Regions from separate parts of the Homo sapiens genome. Here region 1 is linked to region 2. Evidence: promoter capture Hi-C in human tissues and cell types (Jung and others, 2019). All regions are on one chromosome and are shown on one strand. The core of a region is centred on a gene start or on the middle of the fragment in contact, and the rest is flanking DNA. Distances in the headings are between cores, read along the strand shown. Region 1 overlaps LOC105371777 (a long non-coding RNA gene). Region 2 holds the start of KRTAP4-11 (keratin associated protein 4-11).

Region 1 (2,700 bases), core at 50-2,549, 240 kb before region 2:
GGGAGAATTTTGAAAGTGGTAGGAGACAGGAAGATGATAAAATAATACCCTGATGAGAGGAATCTTGGAAATGAGCCTAGGGGAGAGAAAACAGAGATGTTTGAAAGAGAATTCAAAAATAAAAATCACTACTAATGCTTTAAGTTGGAATTGTTACTTGGGGGTCTAATCAGGTACCTGAGGCTGATCCTGATGCATGTGGATGAGAACAGAGTGTCTGAGGAGGTCACTGGCCATGTTTTGATTTTGTATCACTCCATGTCATTCTCCTTTTTAGATGATTCAGAACTCTGGGTAGAAATAATCTCCAGAGCTCAGAAAAAATAGTTATTTCCATCCTAACCTCACCTCTAGGGGCTCTCTCTGAGTTTGATAGCTTCACTTCTGCACTGACAATTTCATATAAAATGAAAAAATACATTGATGATAATTCTAATGTGTGATAAAGACTTCTCTCTGGATCTGTTTACCTGTCAGAAATAGGATTATGTCATTCTAGTTCTTAGCTCATATCAGAAATATAGATAGATACAAAGATTAATGCTTCACTTTCACACAGTAACTGCTGGCAGAACTGGAGGTAGAACTCCACCATCTGGTCCACATGTATGTAGCTCTCACTCACTTCTTTGAAAGATTGCTTGGAAGAAACTAGAGACAGACCAAAGAAGCAAGAGGAAGAAAAAATCTTCATTTTTCTGATCTAAAAATAACAATTCTACTTCTTTTAACAGGTAGTTAAAAGAGGACCATCCTAAATTAAGAATAACAATCCTACCTCTTTTAACACAGTGTCATCATTGCCATATAACAGTGGTCAGGCCTAATCAGTTACAAACCCATCTGCATAGGTTTCTTATTAATCAGATTCACAGTCTGGTATTTGCATGTCAAAGTTTCAGACTATTCTGGAATGTGTCTCAGTAGGTGAAAAAGAATTCACTTTTAAATATTCTTAACATCTTTAAATGCAACTTACTAGCTAGCGTGACTTGGAAGAAAATTAAGAAAAAAATGAGTGAAATCTTTTCACTTTGGAAAAGAAGGCAATGAGAATAGGTGAGAATACCTTTTCTGACAAAAGTTGTACTGAATCAAGTCATGTGTGATGTTAGCCAGCAAAGCTGGACATTTGCCACAATTGGCTGTTGTGTCTGGCTGATGAAAATGACAATTAGAAAACAACAAAATAACTGCGGATAGGCAAGTGCCTATTTCAACTGTGAATCATGTATTGCTTTGTTATGTAATTAGTTGCTTATGAGGGTGTCCTGGTTTTAGAGAAACAGCGCTGAGGTTCAGTCTCGCTCTACTACTTGGTAACTGCTTGACTTTGGGAAAGTCTTTATCTCATGTCTTCATATGAGTCCTCATTTATCCTCATATGTAAAGTGGGGGTAACATAATAAGGTTGAACCTTATTATATATGCTATATAATAGCATATAAAATTGCTATTTCTGAAAGTCAGAAATTATCATATATTGGAAAGCTTTAAAAAAATCTTTATTCTTTCAATTTAAAATAATGAATCAAGTGCCTGCTATGTGTTAGATATTATATTACATCTTAGGAATTCAAAGTGGTACCATTCACATCCTCAAAAATTCCCAACTCTTAGAAATTATCATATATTGGCAAGTTCATATGATTCAACCTAATAGCTTCTACCTCACAGGATTATTGTGAGAATTAAATGAGAAATGCATGAAATGTTTGGCACACAGGCTCATAGTAAGTGCTCAATAAATGGTGGATATTATTATTCTTAAATGAATCATGTAATTATTTTCTATATAATAATCAAACTCAATCCCACTTATTTGCAACTTCTGTATCAAGTTTTAAGTCCAATCTATTTACTGGAATACAATGATTTAGCACACATTGATTTTTCCCATAAACATTCATATGCAATGATTGCTCACTAAAATGCAAAAAGGGTGAGGATACAATATGTGTTTTTATTGTTTTTGGATTTGGCTTCTTTCACTTAGCATGTTTTCGAAGTTCATCTCTGTTATAGCATGTATCAGTACTTCATTCCTTTTTATTGACGAATAAGATTCTATTGTGTGGATATATTACATTTTGTTTATCCATTCATCGGTTGATGGACACTTGAGGTGTTTCGCTTTGGGGCTTTTATGAGTAATGCTGCTATGAACATTTGTGTATAAAAGGACACATCGTATTAACCTATTTATATGAAATGTCCAGAGTAGGCAAATCCGTAGAGACAGGAAGTAGATTAGTGGTTGTTAGGGGCTGGGAGGAAGGGAAAAGGCGGTGACTACTAATAGGTACAAGATTTCCTTTTGGGGTGATGAAGTGTTCTAAAACTAGATAGTGGTGATGGTTGCAAAACATTGTAAGCATACTGAAGACCACTGAATTGTACGTTTTGTAAGGGTGAATTTCATGGTGTGTGAATTATATCTCAATAAATCTGTTATTAAAAAAATGAGAGACATTTCATTAAAAATATATGTTCACCATATAAAGAAAGAGAGGACCTGATAGTATATGCAGCTTATTATCAAAAGGAGACACATTTTGCCTTGAGAAGGGTTTCAGTAATGTTGTTTTTAATCTATTTCCATTTTAAGTATAGTGTACTTCACTCTTATTCTGCTCAGCATTTGTGATTGAATTTGACTCTCAAATTATTCAAAAAGCTGTGTTGAGTTTTAAAAGGCAG
Region 2 (2,700 bases), core at 69-2,568:
CATCCCTGAAGTCTTACTTTGGAATCATGCTTTGAGAATCCCCTTCTACTGCATTCCCACCTCACCCCCATGAATCAGTAAACTCAGTGAAAATTATCACAAAAAAATGCAAAAAACAATAAAAGATTTCTAAATGAAAAGTTTAATACAATATATTTTGTGAACACAATAAAGATAAAGAACCAATAAAATAGAAAAATTCTGGCAAACTTGAACAAACAGAGACAAAGAGAGAACAGGGAGAAAGCAGGAGAGCATGGGAGGGGCAGCCTCCTACCTTTCCAAGAGAAAAGAATGACTGAAAGGCTGACAGACAAATAATATGTTTGAAATGGAGATAATGTGTACCTCACTGGGAAGGATATTCTGTAGGCTCAAAACGATTTAAAAAATGAGGAATTTAGAGGATTGGAATAATTTCTTAGCTAGTGGATTACAAATTATTTCATATTTGGTGCCATGACTGGAAGAGAAAGAAAGCAAGGGAGGGAGTTTAAAATGAACCAGAATGTTCTCACAGAGTCAGTGGGATGGTGATGGGCTCATTGGAAACATGAAGTCCACCCTGCTGAATGACATCAATCCCACTCCATGTGTCCTAATAGTCAGCACAGAAGAATGGTCTACAACTGTGGGCCTGCAGTGAAGGGAGAGATGAGCCAGGGCAGTGGGCTCAGCAGCAAGAGGAGGCACAGCACAAGGGGCGGGGGCAGCTGGAGATGACACAGGTTGGGCGATAGCAAGTGGTGTGGCAGGAGACTCGGCCACAGACTGGACGCAGGCAGCAGCAGGGGCGGCAGCAGCTGGATTCACAGCAAGAGGGGCGGCAGCAGCTGGAGATGCTGCAGCTGGGGTGGCAGCAGGTGGGCTGGCAGCACACAGACTGGCAGCACTGGGGTCTGCAGCAGCTGGACACACAGCAGCTGGGGCGACAGCAGCTGGAGATGCAGCATCTGGGGCGGCAGCAAGTGGGCTGGCAGCACATAGACTGGCAGCACTGGGGCTTGCAGCAGCTGGACACACAGCAGCTGGGGCGACAGCAGCTGGAGATGCAGCATCTGGGGCGGCAGCAGGTGGGCTGGCAGCACACAGACTGGCAGCACTGGGGCCTGCAGCAGCTGGACACACAGCAGCTGGGGCGACAGTAGGTGGTCCTGCAGCAGGTGGTCTCACAGCAGCTGGGGCGGCAGCAGGTCTCCTGGCAGAGGTCTCGGCCACAGCCTTGGTGAGAGCACACGGAGCCACAACAGGAGTTTACCATGGTGTCAGAGGGTGAAGGATCTAGTTGGGTTTCTAGGAGAGTGAAGTTCTTGTGTTTGGAAGTCTCCTGGGCCTGTAGTCCCTTTATACCCTCCTGAAGGCCCATTGCCACCACATCATTATTTCCTTGTTATTATTTACCTACTGGAAAAATTAATCATGTAATTACATCATTGTGTTTCCAGTTAAATACTCCAAAACAGAGAAAATAACCCATTTCCTTTTCCTGCTGTGCTCCTGTGTTTCCATTGGAAATGCATGTCATATTTCTTCATTAGTGGGGAGTCACCTTTGTCCCTGGTCTATGCAGTGTCTTTTACAAAGCACTGGTCACAGGACTCTCTGACATTTTGTTTTTAAATGTGACTCTCCCTCCTACCTGCAGATTGCTGTCTGCAAATCATGGGGGATGATTTTTATAATGTGAATGTATCTTTTGTTGTCAAAGAATGTCCTGGTCAGGTGAAATGTTGGGAAGGAATTAGAAGGAAGCACTCATTTGGGGAAGGATGTCCCATCTGTAATGAGGATGACTCTGATCCCATGTGTGCATCTCGGATGGTCGGGCAGATGGTCAGATCCCAAGAAGTTCTAAACTCTGTCAGATCTTATTCCACAGCCTCCAGCGAAAGTACTTACCCATGACTCACTGCCTTTAAAGGGTAAAAACACATTTTGCTGTATGTCTTACAGTATATGCATTATGAGTAGGAAGTTTTGATTTATCTTTTTTTTTTTTTTTGACAGATTCTCAATCTGTCGCCAGGCTGGAGTACAGTGGCATGATCTCTGCTCACTGCAACCTCCACCTCCTGGGTTCAAACGATTCTTTTGCCTCAGCCTCCCGAGTAAGGTGGTTTGCGCCATCACACCCAGCTTACTTTTGTATTTTTAGTAGAGACAGGGTTTCACCATGTTGGCCAAGATGGTCTCGATCTCTTGACCCCGTGATCCACCTGCCTTGGCTTCCCAAAGTGTTGGGATTGCAGGCATGAGCCCCCAACACCCAGCCTGATTAATCTTTGATCATCAAAATTGCATGATGGATTTTTCATTTACAAAAGCATTTGTTATATATAAAGAATATTTAGAATTATTAAGCCTTCAATAACATGCATCCAAGATGTTCTATTGGGTACTCTGGGTGTAGAACAGATAAACCCTCAACTTTTTCTTGCAGGTACTTGCATAAGACACATGGATAGGAAACAGTTTGGCAGAAATGAAAAGAATTACAATTATTTTCATTAAACAACTAAAATAAGAAATGTATAATATGTGGATAAGTTCCATACACCCTCATGGTATGTATATTACTTGTGAAGTATTGACTATGTAGCAGGCATTGTACCAAATATCTTACATTTGTTTCATTTTCACGCTTTAATAGAACCTTATGAACTAGTTTATATTCTTATTAGTCTTTTAGGGGAATACTCA

What was found. Contacts are between HindIII fragments. The study calls those that stand out against the background at their distance.
Region 1: a fragment that was not itself captured here is called in contact with the fragment with the promoter of KRTAP4-11 in region 2 in 2 of the 25 tissues and cell types used here (lymphoblastoid cells and mesenchymal stem cells).

What each region holds. Positions count from the first base shown.
Region 1 is chr17:40,873,113-40,875,812 of GRCh38, forward strand. All of the region lies in intron 1 of LOC105371777 (a long non-coding RNA gene), which reads left to right. Among named protein-coding and RNA genes, the nearest start is that of KRT12, 7.2 kb to the left of the region's middle. The HindIII fragment of the contact is 4,870 bases long and covers 1-2,700 here.
Region 2 is chr17:41,117,055-41,119,754 of GRCh38, forward strand. KRTAP4-11 (keratin associated protein 4-11) reads right to left here and starts at 1,319. Exons shown (of 1, transcript NM_033059.4): 1 at 127-1,319. The coding sequence starts at 1,261. The coding sequence ends at 674. The HindIII fragment of the contact is 2,482 bases long and covers 1-1,381 here.